Linked DNA regions of Homo sapiens: regions 1 and 2 are each linked to region 3. Evidence: promoter capture Hi-C in human tissues and cell types (Jung and others, 2019). All regions are on one chromosome and are shown on one strand. The core of a region is centred on a gene start or on the middle of the fragment in contact, and the rest is flanking DNA. Distances in the headings are between cores, read along the strand shown. Region 1 has its middle 35 kb from the start of FBLN1. Region 2 overlaps FBLN1 (fibulin 1). Region 3 holds the start of FBLN1 (fibulin 1).

The links. The method cuts DNA at HindIII sites, captures the fragments that hold promoters and counts their contacts. A contact is called where the count stands out against the background at its distance.
Region 1: a contact is called between a fragment that was not itself captured here and the fragment with the promoter of FBLN1 in region 3, in 5 of the 25 tissues and cell types used here (bladder, dorsolateral prefrontal cortex, lymphoblastoid cells and 2 more).
Region 2: a contact is called between a fragment that was not itself captured here and the fragment with the promoter of FBLN1 in region 3, in 5 of the 25 tissues and cell types used here (IMR-90 fibroblasts, aorta, bladder and 2 more).

Annotation. Positions count from the first base shown.
Region 1 is chr22:45,465,636-45,470,170 of GRCh38, forward strand. No RefSeq gene overlaps it. Among named protein-coding and RNA genes, the nearest start is that of FBLN1, 35 kb to the right of the region's middle. The HindIII fragment of the contact is 3,482 bases long and covers 1-3,156 here.
Region 2 is chr22:45,549,322-45,554,139 of GRCh38, forward strand. FBLN1 (fibulin 1) reads left to right here. Exons shown (of 17, transcript NM_006486.3): 14 at 1,171-1,294. Among named protein-coding and RNA genes, the nearest start is that of FBLN1, 49 kb to the left of the region's middle. RefSeq lists an enhancer at 4,526-4,635. The HindIII fragment of the contact is 3,435 bases long and covers 1,294-4,728 here.
Region 3 is chr22:45,501,617-45,506,728 of GRCh38, forward strand. It overlaps FBLN1 (fibulin 1), which reads left to right and starts at 1,267. Exons shown (of 17, transcript NM_006486.3): 1 at 1,267-1,448. The coding sequence starts at 1,370. RefSeq lists enhancers at 1,881-2,494, 2,495-3,108, 3,109-3,722, 3,723-4,336, 4,337-4,948. The HindIII fragment of the contact is 10,534 bases long and covers 1-5,112 here.

The DNA.
Region 1 (4,535 bases), core at 166-2,665, 36 kb before region 3:
GATAAATCAAGAATTATACTTGGAGACTTTAATACCCCTCTCTCAATAAATTATAGACTAATCAGGCAGAATATCAACAAAGATATAGAATAAGAAAACTCAACAGAAACATCAACCAACAGTATCTCAACAATATTTATAGAACACTCCACCCAACAAGAGCAGAACATATGTTCTTTTCATATTTTCCTCATTGTCTTGGGGATTAACAATTGGCTCCTCGTTATTTACGCAAATGTCTGCAGCCTGCTTGAATTTCTCCTCAGAAAATGGGATTTTCTTTTCTATTGCATTGTCAGGCTGCACGTTTTCTAAACTTTTATGCTCTGTTTCACTTTTAAAATCAAATGCTTTTAACAGCATCCAAGTTACATCTTAAATGCTTTGCTGCTTAGAAATTTCTGCTAGATACCCTAAGTCATCTCCCTCAAGTACAAAGTTCCACAAATCTCTAGGGCAGGGGCAAAATGCTGCCAGTCTCTTTGCTAAAACATAACAAGAGTCACCTTTGCTCCAGTTCCCAACAAGTTCCTCATCTCTATCTGAGACCACCTCAGCCTGGACTTTATTGTCCATATCGCTGTCAGCATTTGGGGCAAAGCTTTTCAACAAGTCCCTAGAAAGTTCCAAACTTTCCCACATTTTCCTGTCTTCTTCTGATCCCTCCAAACTGTTCCAATCTCTGCCTGTTCCCCAGTTCCAAAGCTGCTTTCACATTTCAGGTATCTTTTCAGCAATTGGTGCTGGGGAACATACACCAAGATAGACCATATCTTGGACCATAAAACAAACTTTAACAAATTTTCAAGAATTGAGAGATCATGAGGGTATGCTCTCTAATCACATAGAATCCAACAAGAAATTAATAGCAAAAAGATAACAGGAAAACCTCCACATACTTAGAAACTCAACAACACACTTCTAGACAATCTATGGGTCAAACAGGAAGTCTCAAGGGAAGTAAGAAAAACACATTAAATTGAATACAAATGAAAATACAACATATTAAAATTTGTGAGACACAGCTAAAGCAATATCATGAGGGAAATTTATAGCAATAAATGCACATATTAGAAAAAAAAGCCTCCAGCCTGGGCAACATAGTGAGACCCCATCTCTATTTTAAATTGTATCTGTATAATTTAAAAAGAAAAAGAGGCCAGGCATGGTGGCTTACGCCTGTAATCCCAGCACTCTGGGAGGCTGAGGTGGGCGGATCACCTGAGGTCAAGAGTTCAAGACCAGCCTGGACAACATGGTGAAACCCTGTCTCTACTAAAAATACAGAACTGACAACTCAGCTGTTTCCTGCATTCCTTGAGCATGTTCACTGTCAGTCTATGTGGACCGCCTTGACCAGGTTCAAGAGTTCCTTTTCATTCCAGTTTATTGAGACTTTTTCTTTTTTGAGTCGGAGTTTTGCTCTTGTTGCCCAGGCTGGTGTGCAATAGTGCAATCTCAGCTCACTGCAACCTCCACCTCCTGGATTCAAGCGATTCTCCAGCCTCAGCCTCCCGAGTAGCTGGGATGACAGCCACCCGCCATTAACCCTGGCTAATTTTTGGGTTTTGTTTTGTTTTGTTTTGTTTTTTGATACTAAGTCTCAATCTTGTCACCCAGGCTGAAGGGCAATGGTACGATCTTGGCTCACTGCAACATCTGCCTCCCGGATTCAAGCAATTCTCCTGCCTCAGCCTCCCGAGTAGCTGGGATTACAGGTGCCTGCCAGCATGCCTGGCTAATTTTTGTATTTTTAGTAGAGATGGGGTTTCACCATGTTAGCCAGGCTGGTCTTGAATTTCTGACCTCAGGCAATCCACTCGCCTTGGTCTCCCAAAGTGATGGGATTACAGGAGTGAGCCAACATGCCAGCCTGTATTTTTAGTAGAAATGGGGTCTCACTGCATTTTCCAGGCTGGTCTTGAACTCCTGACCTCAGGTGATCCACTGGCCTCGGCCTCCCAAAGTGCTGGGATTACAGGCGTGAGCCACCGCACCTGGCCTATGGAGACCTTTTAAGCATCAATGATTGTTGAATTTTGTCAAGTGTTTTTTCTGCTGTATTAGTTCATTTTCCCACTGCCATAAAGAACTTACCTGAGAGTGGGTAAATTGTAAAGGAAAGAGGTTTAATTGACTCACAGTTCAGCCTGGCTGGGGAGGCCTCCGGAAGCTTAACACTATGGAGGAAGGTGACAGGGAAGCAAGTACTTTCTTCACAAGCCATCAGGAGAGAGGAGGATGAAGGACGAGCTTCCAAACACTTAAAAAACCATCAGATCTCGTGAAAACTCCCTCATTATCACGAGAACAGCACGAGGGAAACCGGCCCCATGATCCATTCACCTTCCTCCCTCCACATGTGGGAATTACAGGTCCCTCCCTCAACATGTAGGGATTACGATTGGAGATGAGATTTGAGTGGGAGCATAGAGCCAAACCATATCATCTGCATATATTGAAATGATTACATGATTTATGGCAACGTGGTGACTTACACTGATTGATTTTCAAGTGTTAAACCAACCTTGAATTTCTGTGATCAGTCTGACTTGGTCATGATGGATTGTCCTTTTTGTATATTTCTGGATTTGATTTGATCATATCACATTAAGGATTTCTGTGAGTGAAAGGAAAATAAATCTTGGGACCCCCAAATCACTAAACTAAAGGAAAAAGTCAAGCTGGGAACTGCTTAGGACAAAGCTGCCTCCCATTCCATTCAAAGTCATCCCTCTGAGGCTCACCTGAGACAAATGCCTATCTGATTGCTTCCTCTTCCCTATCGTTTATGTAAAAATGCAGATTCACTGAACGGGACTAAATTGTGTATTCAGTGGAAGACTGGTCAAGGACTCAAAAGAATGCAACCTTTTGTCTCTTGTCTACCTTTAACCTGGAAGCCCCCACTTCGAGTTGTCCCACCTTACAGGACCGAACCAATGTACATCATACGCAGGAAGCTCAGAAAGCTTAAAATAATGGCAGAAGGTGAAGGGGAGCAGGCACGTCACATGGCAAAAGCAGAAAGGTGAGAGAGAAAGAGAGAGAGAAGAAGGGGAGGTGCCACACACTTTTAAATGACCAGATGTTGTATAAACTCGGGGTTAGAACTCACTTATCAGCAAGGGGATAGCCCAAGCCATTCATGAGAAATTGGCCGCCATGATCCAAACACCTCCCACCAGGCCCCACCTCCAACATTGGGGATTACAATTCAACATGAGATACGGGTGGGGACAAATATCCCAACTGTATCAGCAAGGATATTTCTATATTTTGGAAATCTTTCCATTCGAAATTGACAAAACGAACAAAGGCTTGTCACTGGAAGTGGTAAGCTTCAGTATTGCGGGGGGGGTTGGGGAGGGCAATTGCTCACGGGGAACTGGCATTTTCCAGATTCGTTCCAACTCACTTGATCAATGAGTCATTACTGTGTGGTGTTTTTAAAAAGCAGTTGAAATATTCTATTGCTGCAGCAGAGAAGGATCCAGGCAGCCCAGCTCCAGGTTTTGAGTCTCGGTGGTGACTTCAGCGTTTAGAAACAATTGTTTTTGGTTCAGTTCTAAAGCATTATGAATTCTGTTTAACTATGAACAAATTTTTACTTGACCCTCTAAAGTAGATCTCCTATCTTTATGATCTGTTTCATTTTCCATTAAAGTTTTAAAAACATATTTCAAATATCCCCTGGCATCAAAATGAAGTTATAAGACCTCAGAATCACCAACAAACGCTCTCTTTCTAGAATGCGAATGTGTGGGGAAGTTTTATTAAAGTGATTTTCATGTGCAAAAAGAGATTAGGCACGAATAAAGCCTGCCATAAAAAGCACACACGTTCTCTGGGGAATGTCTCAGTTTTGATTTCAGGGTTCAGTCTCGGTGAGATAATGATAGTCTTTAACATATGCATATTTCTTTTCTTTTTTAGTTTGGGCTTGTTTTTTGTTTGTTTGGCCTATGTCCCCATTGTGACTCTAACTTGCCAAAACTTAAACCTGAAAAACTGGCATTAGAAATTAGGCATAACATTACGAAATTACACATACCTCCAAATTTTTTCATGCCTTTTGGATAGTCTCAATTCCAATGTTGTTTTATGCCAATAATGAACATGTGCTGAGATGCAGTGCGGGTTGTTAAAAGTGCTTGCCAAACATACTTCTAAAGCTAACCCCGTTAGGGGAAGAAAAAAAACATCACATTACAGCACATTGGCTCAAAAGCAATGTACCCAAAGGTTGGCCCTCAAATGTTTCTCATTAAGAATCTTCCCTCCCCAAGGGCAGGCCTGGACTTGTTTGTTCCTTAATTTTCAGCCTTTAGCTCAGTGCCCAGCAGTGTGAGGTGGTTAATTGCTGCCAACCAGACAGGTTATTTGAAAATATTTGCCTTTAAGAGGTGTGTTAAATGAACAGTCCCCAGAAGTAAGATCCACGCCTCAGGGCAAAGGATGTTGTACTGCTTTTCACTTCCAAAGTGGACTTTCAAACTGAGATGTCGCTCTGAAATCCAAGAAGCTGCTTGGCC
Region 2 (4,818 bases), core at 1,761-4,260, 49 kb after region 3:
GTGTACACACTGCGCCCAGAAGCTGAGTCATGGAGGTGGGGCTGTCCAGCCAGTTCCTCGGGAGCCCCACACAGGACTGTGGATCCTGGGGCTCTGGAAGCCCCCTGGGTCCCACAGATGTAGCTTCTGGTCATGAGGAAGGTGACTTTGATGAAAGGCAGGCAGGAGCTGCGGTGTTTCCTGGGAGGCCCCCTCCGCTTGCCCTGGGCTCTGGATGGAAGGCTGGTTGTGTCTGCATTTCTGACGGAGCAAATGACTTTTCTCCTGGCCAGGCTCCCTCACCACAGCCTGGGGTCCCGCCCAGACTCAGCATAAACACATTCCTGAGCCGGGCCTTTGAGGCTGGGGAGTGTTGTTTTTGCCACCGATGCTCAGGCATTTGGCACCTCTTAATGGATGTCTCCCAGGGTTGGTGACAGCCCCTGAGCCCCACTGTTTGGCTGCTCCAGAGTCTATGGGAGTTGGGCTGCTCCCCCATCTCCAGGGGCCTCTCAGTGTGGTGCCCCAGGCCCCATCCCAGGAGTCCCAGACCTGGTGGTTCCAGTCCACCCTGAACAGCCACCAACCCCAACACACAGGCAAGACGTATGATCCCTCGAAGGCTGTTTTTCTCATTGTTGTGTGGAGCTAGCAGCTCCTGCCCTTTTCTCCTAAGAGGTTGAGTCACACCTAGGGTAAGGGTGCTGAGCCTCGGGAGCCACAGAGAGGCTCTGGTTAGTTAGTGTATGGACTCTGATGCCAGCCTGCCCGGGTTCAAAGCTCAGCTCTGACATTTATAAAATGTGTGACCTCAGGCAGGTCTCTTAAGCTCTGTGAGCTCCTCATAAAATGAGGATCATAACAGTATCTGCCTCATTGAGTTCTTAGGAGGATTCAGTGACTTATCCTTGCGAGGTACTCCCAGGACCCATCATGTAGTGTTTACTTTTACCATCGTCACGCTCCCTCCAGGGATTGCGAATGATAAGTTAACACTCTATAAATGTAAATACCCTATAAATGTAAGAACTGGCACAGGACGCTGCTCTGAAGATCAGCCAGTGGAGGGCAGGGATGGCCTGATCGCCACCCCTAACCCTAGTTGATGGGAGGCCTGGGCTCCTCCGTCTCCAGATGGGTATGGCTCCTGCAGCCTCTGCCTTCACTGTGCTGCTGTGGGGTCTCTTGCAGACATTGATGAGTGTGTGACTGGCATCCACAACTGCTCCATCAACGAGACCTGCTTCAACATCCAGGGCGGCTTCCGCTGCCTGGCCTTCGAGTGCCCTGAGAACTACCGCCGCTCCGCAGCCACGTAAGTCCCTTGGACCATGCCATCGTCGTCTGTCTGTGTTGGCCTTCCTGGTGACCCAGTTCCCGGGTGGGTGGGTTATCAGGCTGTGACCTCGGTGTCCTCCCATGAGGGACTCAGGGCACTCAAAGATCACCTGATCCCTGGCCCTCAAGCCCCTAAATGCTAGTGACACTGGTCTCGGAAAGTCAAGGGGGTAACTGCAAATGAGTCTGGGGTCTATAGTCATGTTTTCAGGCCAAGGCTGTGCACAGAACCAGGAGAAACCACAGCCCTCTTTTTTCCTAGGGTGGAAGCCTTGGGCAAGCTCTCTGGGCCTCAGTTTCCTCATCTGTAACATGCAGATGTCAGAACGTGCTCTGACTGAGATGCATAGGTAGCAATGTCTCCATGTCAGCCCAAAGCCAGGGAGCCGATGTGACCTGTTGGACGTTGTTGTTAGGTGCCCACCTGAAAGCCAGAATTCGTCCAGCCTGGTGACCGTGTGGGAACGGCATCAAAGATTCCAGATCCTAAACGTGGGGCTGCGTGCCCCTATGTCTTTGTAAGCTCACTCACTCCTAGGCCATCACGGCGCCCACTTGAGACCACGGTTCCCACTTCCTATCCCCCTTGCCCCTAATTGTATTCAGAAAGTCTCATTTAGTGCCACAGTCAGTTGCTTCAGGAAAAGCTCCATGCTGGGACCGATCTCAGGACTGTGGACTTGTGACCTCTCCCAGCACTCTGAGTGCACGATGCAGGCAGCCAGCTGTTTCCGAGGCCTTGGCCCCTTGACCTTCAGCCTGCCTTGGGCTCTTGGCCAGCTGCCCCCGCGACCTGAGGGTCAGTGGTAGTGTCCACCTCTTGACCCTAGGGGCAGCTGCCCTGGCTTGTGGCATAGCAAGGCTTCTGGGTACCCGAGCAGCCCCGTTGTCCCTGGCAGCCCTCCATATTCTTCCTGGCTTTGCGATTCTCATTGGCTGGCCCAGCCATTTCCCTGTTTCCCAGCACGGATTTCTGTCTGCTTGAAAACCCAACATCTTGTTTCCTTCCTGAGCTTGGGTTAGGAAAAAGCTGCCCCAAAACTGGGTTTGCAAGTCTGTAGCATCCCGAAGAGCTCATGGTTATGCAACAGCCTGCCCCAGGCAGTGACACTGCTTCTCTGAGCCATTAAGAAAGTTCGATGGCCTTGGCTGCAGGCTGTGCAGCCGTCTGTCATTGTAAGTTCACTCTCTCCCCAGCCTTTGTCAGCGCCTGGGCTTGAGGATTCCAGGAGGCTGGCTGTGGTTGTGACCTCGATTTCTAACTTGCGCACAGTCGTGAAACCACCTTTCGAAGAGGGGGAGGCTGCCCTGCACAGGGGCCCTGGCGCCTCCTAAGCCTGAGGGTGGGCGGGTTGGCCATGTGTGCTGAGGTCATGGCTGAAATCAGGGGAACCCAGCTCCACCCCTCATGTTGGCTGTGGAAGCCTCTGCCACCCCTCAGTGCTGGAGAAAGTCGTTTCTTCCTGGACCTACTGCGTGCAGGCACCTGGGTAGACAGCCCACAGAGGGCTTTGTCCCCGCACAGGCTCCGCCTTCGGCGTGTGTGCTAGGAGGGAGGAGGGGACCCCACCTGGCTGGGCGTGAGGGTGGGCAGGGGGCTGTCTGGAGTGGGCCATGCCTGCATGGAGGTGGAAGGGGGAGCGAATTAGGCAGAAGCGGCGGGAGTATGGACACATGTGCGGTGAAATGGGGAGTTCAGCCTGAAACCTGGGCCCTGTGTGCTGTGCAGTAAGGGATTGAGCTGCTGGGCGCCTGGCTTGTTCCAGCCCTTGGACTCCCGGGACTGATAGTGAGGAGGGGCCACCCCCTCTCAGCACTGCTAACCCCTCAGACTGGAGTTTTGTATTTTACAGCCCCTTTTCCTGCTCATCAAAAATCGAAGCTGCTTAACACGTTTTTTCATCTAAGCTTCAGAAAGCAATTTTTAAAATCTAAAAGAGCCATATTTAGGAGGGACCCATGGCCGGCGCTTCTGTGGTTAACAACTCAGCAAGAGCGCCTCCTTCGGGAGCCTTGACAGACAGGACTGCAGAGTCCGCTGCTGTGCCTTTCTCTCTCTCTCCACTCAGACGGCTTCCATCTGGGGAACATCCCGGCGGCCGAGGGCTGGTAACTGGAGCATGACCCAGGAAGCTGGGCCGCAAACCACAGGGCTCGGCCTTGTGGACAGGACCAGGCTGTTACAGTCCTGCCCACACAATTCCCTTCTGCCCGCAGGAGGAAGTGTGCAAAGCTGTCCCACAGCCTTCATGGGGCCGGACACATCCTCTTTATCCCCTCAGTGGGGCCGGCGCCTGATGACCTGTGGTCTAGAAAGCTGGAGCAAAGCCGGGTGGCCTTGGTTGCCGCTTCCCGGGGATGGGACACGAGTGAACAGCTGTGGGCCTGAGGGTGTAACACGGTGGACGGTGGCAGAGATAGAGCCGTCGATGGCCCCCCTGCCTTGGCCAGTTCCTGGGGCTTGTCTCCCGGACGACGAGCGTGTGAAAGTCAGGAAAATGCCGGCAGGGATATCCACAAGCACCTGGGGTGGCCAGAACTGCCGTGCCTCCCAGGAGAAGGAGGGGGCCTAGAGGGCCTTTTTTCTCTGGTGTGTGGTGGCTTAGGATCATTTCCATAGAGCTTGAGGTGTTAGGGTCAAATGTGTTGAACTGGCAAGTTGGAGCACATTGTCCTCTAACGCATGACATGGCCCAGGATGGGTGGCCTGCTGAGGGGACATGTCTGGAAACCAGGGCCTGCGTGGCAGGGGGGGACGGGGCGGGCTCGCCTATGCCCTGCTCTGTAATACATTCAGTGATGACAACCCGTCCCTGACCTAGACACACTGGCTAAAAGGGATTTTTGGGCCGTTCCCAGTCTGACAGGCAGTTTGCCAGACAGTTATGTTTCTGGTGTTTTAAAAAGTTTGAGTAGAGCGAAGTACGATCATTGAAGCCAGGACTTACCAGGAAAATCAAGGACATGTTTATTTTTGTGCATTAGTCATTTGCAAAGCACATAGCGGGTGCCCCAGGCCCTGCTCTTTGTCCAGAAGGAGCCAGCCCAGAAACTCCTAGTGTAGAGAAGGTTTTGGGGTGCTCTGAGGAATGACTGTGTGGGGTCGGAGGGGGAGCCTCCAGGGGAGGAGTGACCAGTCGCTGTGTGTGATGACGGCGGGAGCTGCACCAGAACACCACGCACACCTCCCATTGCTTTCCTCCGCTTCCCTCTGGCAAAACAAATTCCATCCCTGGTTAGTACCCGCCATGCTGAGAGAAGCGGGAAGCCGAAATCCCACCAGGGCGACTCTAGCGCCACCTGCTGACCAGCCCCATCCAGGCTGGTCCTGAAGTTGCTGGTGTGTGTGCGTGTGCGCGTGCTTGTGTGTGTGCATACATTGTGTGTGTAAAAGCTTTGAAGTAAGACAGGCCGACTTTGAAAGCCAAGCTTGCCCCTTACGACACACCACGGAGCTATCAGCAAGTTCTGCATCCTCAATGGGCGTCTGTCTTCCAGCCA
Region 3 (5,112 bases), core at 17-2,516:
TGCCTGGCTAATTTATTTTTATTTTTATTTTTAGTAGAGACAGGGTTTCACCATGTTGGCCAGGCTGGTTTCGAACTCCTGACCTCAGGCAATCCGCCCACTTCATCCTCCCAAAGTGCTGGGATTACAGGTGTGAGCCACCGCCACCGGCCTGTTCTTGCCTTTTATGTAAATGGAATCATGCAGCGAGTGTTCCTTTGTGGCTGACTCTATTACTCTGACTTACGTCTGTGAGATTTACCCGTTATGTGAGTTGCGGATCATTCACTCCTGTTCCGTTTGTCGTGCTCCTAAGCCCGAATACTCCACGATATTCATCTGCCTTGATGACGCTAGGCTTCCCAATTGGAGGAATTATGAATGTGCGGCTACATGTCTTTCTGTCTTTTGGAGCACATGTTGTATGCGTTTCTGCTGAGTGTAAGGCTGGGCGGGGCGTCGGTGGCTCAAGGGGTCCATGGTGAACTCACAGGAACACCGCTTTGAGCTGCCCAGTGGCGTTCCTATGCGTCTCATCCAGTTCCTCCGCATCTTCACCTGCACCATTTTATTCTTCTTCTTTGGAAAATAAATCTACTTGTGGTTCCAAAGCCTAACTCATCCTCAGTAACCCCGGTAGCTATGAATTCCTATACAAGAGGCTCCCGCAGGCCCAGCGCCAAAGCTGCCTCCCCTGCAGCCTCGGTGACTTCCCGGGTCTCTCCCTCCGGCCCTGGTGTCCCGGGTGAGCCCAGCACACGTTGGGATTTTGGTTGTTTGTTGGCCTGGCCCGACTGTCCCTGTCTCTGAGGGCAGAGTCGGGTCCCATCCCGGGACACGCCTGGGGTTAGCCACCGACCTGCAGCCTCCCGGCCGAGGGTGCGGGGTTGGCGGTAAGGCCTGCCCCAGTGCCCCCCAGCAGCCGGGCCTCCGACTGCAGGCCCGGGTCCCCGCTCCTCCGCGCGGAGTCGGGCGGGGATAACCTTTGATCCCGAGCCCTCCCCTCGAGAGGGGGTGGGGGGAGGAGGGGATCGGGTTTCACGGAGTGTTGGGGGATAGGACTGGGGGCATCCGGCCCGAAGGCGCCCCCTCTGTGCCCCCTCCGGGGAAGTCTGGGATCCAGGCCCTCGCCCCCAGCCGTGGGCGCGCGCCCCTCGCAGCCGGGGTCCGGGGAGGGAGGGTCCCGGCAGGGGGCGCCGGGGAGGGAGGACCAGGAGACCCGCGGCCCCGCCTCCGCCGCGCCCTCCTCCCGGGCGGGATAATTGAACGGCGCGGCCCTGGCCCAGCGTTGGCTGCCGAGGCTCGGCCGGAGCGTGGAGCCCGCGCCGCTGCCCCAGGACCGCGCCCGCGCCTTTGTCCGCCGCCGCCCACCGCCCGTCGCCCGCCGCCCATGGAGCGCGCCGCGCCGTCGCGCCGGGTCCCGCTTCCGCTGCTGCTGCTCGGCGGCCTTGCGCTGCTGGCGGCCGGAGGTAGGGGCGTCCCGGGTCCGCCGCCCCAGCTTAGGGTCCCGACCCCCTCGGCCTCGCGCTCCCTGCGAGTTTCGGAACCACGGGGACTCGGAGTCCGTGCGTTGCCCTGCGCGGCGCCCCCGGACTGTCAGCGCCGAGGCCTCGGCGACGCCCCCCTCCCCCACGGCCAGCTCCGGTCCTCATCTCCTCCCCGGCCTGGGGACTTGTTTCAAAACCGGATTCCCCCACCCCTCAAACACACCGTCCTACCCCAGTCCTAGCAAATCCAGCCGGCTCCGGGGGCCGCATCCCGGGCCCTGGGGGTTCAGGGGCGCTAGCTGGGCTGGGGGACGCTGGCTGGGGGTTACCGAGCCCAGGGCGCCTTGCACTTGACGCTGGAAGCGCCCTCGGCTATCTTTCCTCACCGCTTCCCGCCTCCACCCCCAGGTAGGAGCTGTTGTACCCAGCTTGCGGATGTGAAACTTGAGCCTGGAGGGTGGGAAGCAGTCTTTTCCCCAGGAGACACTAGCGGTCCTGGGATAGGGGCTGGAGAGGAAGAAATGAGAAAGCCAGGGAGCAGCCTGGAGGTTTTTGGGGCGTAGCTGGGAGGATGGAGGGGATGCGGACCTGGCCACCTCCTCCCTGCCTCCCTCCCGGGACAGAGGGCCCAAGGCAGTGGTTCTGCCGGGCTCGGTGCTCAGCGGGGACTGGGGACTGGTCACTTCCACCAACGGCAAGGGGGATGGAGTTTTCCAAGAGCAGATCTGATCGATGGCCCAGACCTTAGGCCCCAACTCTGGGACTGACAGCTCCGGGACAGTGCCCACCCAGCCCGCGCTTTTCTCCCCTCTAACCCTCAAGGCCTGGTCCCTGGGGGGACTGCCACGAGGTCCTCTGATCAGAGCAGCTGCTGGGCGGCAGAGCTATGACCTGTGACCTCTCTGCTGACCCGTGGCTTCTCAGAGCCACTAGCCAGGCCCGGCACTCCTGGCGTCTTTGTTTCTCCAGTGGCCCAGGTCCAGGGGAGTGCCCTAGACCACCCTCAGAATCCGAGTCTTAATCCCTGGTTTAGTTGAGTTCCTTTTAACCTCTGGTGACCGCCTTTGTTAGTCAAAAGGTCGCTTGTCCCAACTAATGCTCACTGGGGGATTCCAGGAAGGGGGCTGAAGGGGGCTGGAGGGGGAGGGGAGGCTGGGAGCTGAGCTCTACAGAGCTTTCTTGACTGGCTGGCTGCAGCAGAGCCCTGTGGAGCTCTGATTGTTCAGGCGGTGCTGGGCACGGCCTGGGCACCTCGTGGGGTTGGAGATGGTGTGGGGAGGCGCAGAGCTCAGTGTTGGCACCAGGAGCCTTCGCAGCCCCTGGGGGCTCCCTGGAGGCTCTTTAGAAGAGATGGAGCTTGATGTAAGGGGAGCGCGGGAAGAGGGCATTCCAGCAAGCAGCAGGCCGGGTGGCTGCCAGCTGGAGGGAAAACCCCGAGGGGCCCTGGGTGATGGGTGGGTGGGACATCCGAGACTCCTGTTAGAAAAGGAAGGAGCCTCAGAGGCCCCGATTGTGTCGATGAGGAAGCTGAGGGCCTGAGAGAAGGCGTGGTAAAACTCTCCCTGGCCCCGGAGTCTCTGCGTTCCCTCTCACTGTTCTTTTCTGTCTGCGGTTTGCGAACAATTTCTCCCTATGTGTGTGTGACTGAATGAACACCCCAGGACTTGCGGGCCCAGTGTGGCTCACTGCTGAGCCACAGAGAAGTTTGTAATTGGAAGGGTTTAAAAAAGCCTCCTAATTGCACACTTCGATAAAAGCAGCTGGATGTCCTGTGGGCCTTTTGTTTCTTTTGGGGAGAAGTCTCTTTGAGTTTCAACAGGTTTAATTTGGTACAGTTTGGGAAGGGGCTTTTGAAGACTGCCTGGCCCCTATCTGCAGCTGTGAGGCCCCCGAAGCCCTGTATGTAAGGCCACAAGTGGCACCGCCCCTGCTCTCAGAGAGCTGTGGGGCCGCAGATGGTGAGCCTGTTAGCTGATCTGCAGAAACTCCTTTGGCGACGGCCGCTTAAATGGAGAAGGGCGCTGATCTTTCTTGCCAAACGGCCGAGAGGAGCCGCCTGTCTGTCCTGTGTCTGTCCGTCCCGTTGGGCTTTACTGAGAGCTGGGTGGGAGGGAGTGGAGAGGAGGAGGTGTTAGGAAAAGACGATTGTGTTTTCTCCAAGGCTTTCTTGGCCTCTGGCTGCAGCCGGGCAGCGTTTCCGACTGATTAAAAGAAAGTTGGGAGGGAGAACAAAGGCCAGGGAGGACTTGGCTTGAAAACGTGTGGTCTGTGCCGCCACTCCTGGAAGTTTCCCAGTCAGGAGGTGGGGGCCAGGGCACTGAATGCATGAAGATGAGACTCTGTGCCATGGGGGTCAGGGCTGGGGCCTCTCCTGCAGCACCCACAGCTCTGGCTCACGCCCCGCTCCTGGCCCTGCTGAGTGCCCCCCAACTCAGGGCTGCATTTGCCACCCCTGTTAGGTGTGTAGGGCAGGAGTAGGGGCACGCGGCTGACTCATCTTCAGGTCCTGGAGGGCTCCACGGGCCTTGTGAGACTAGAAATCAGTTTGCATCAGAAAAAGCCATGAGATGGTTTGGTGGTTTTCTCATTTATAAAATGAAGGGAACAAAAACCTACTTAGGTTGTCTTGAGGATTAAGAGAGAGAACATAGGATAGTGTCTACCATGGCAGCTATATTATTATTATTATTATTTTATTTTATTTTTGAGACGGAGTTTCGCTCTTGTCGCCCAGGCTGGAGTGCAATGGCATGATCTCGACTCACTGCAACCTCCGCCTCCCGAGTTGAAGCGATTCTCCTGCTTCAGCCTCCCCAGCAGCTGGGATTGCAGGCGCCCATCACGCCCAGCTAATTTTTGTACTTTTAGTAGAGATGGGGTTTCACCATCTTGGCCAGGCTAGTCTCGAACTCCTGACCTCAGGTGATCCACCTACCTCGGCCTCCCAAAGTGCTGGAATTACAGGTGTGAGCCACCGTGCCGGCTGGCAGCCCTGTTATTAATGTTAGCTATTATTCCTGTTGTCCCCTTCTCTAGGAAGTGTTGGCACCAGGAGCCTTCGCAGCCCTTGGGGGCTCCCTGGCGGCTCCTTGGAGGAGATGAGGCTTGATGTGAGGGGAGCGCGGGAAGAGCGCAATTCTGCCAATACCCCAGAATTGTTTTCCCCAAGATGCCTCTGCACATTCTACTACTACTGAATTTCCCAGCCAGGCGCTGAGCAGAAGGCCCCATGGGGCTATAGGACTGGTAGTCGTCAGTGCCAAACCCGTGTCAGGAAAGGTGGTGTTCTTAGCCATTCAGTCATTCATTCACTAAGGGACAGCTCAGTGCCAGACACTGCTCTATAACTTGTGGATGTGGCAGGAAAGGAGAGAGACCCAGTTTTTCCCCCTCATGCAACTAGGAGATCCAGAAAAATGAACTGAGCCCTACTGGCAGAGTCAGGGAAGACTTCCCGGAGGAAGCGGCATGCAAACTGGGAACCTAAGGAGGAAAAGGCAGTGGCTAAGTCTGTGGGTAGGGCTGGGAGGATGGGGGAAAGGGTGTTCCTGGCAGGGGAAATGGCAGGGCCAAATACCTGGAAGGAAGAGAAAACACGAGACTTCCAGGGAAACCCCCTCCTTCTACCCACTTCCAGTTCCTTCCA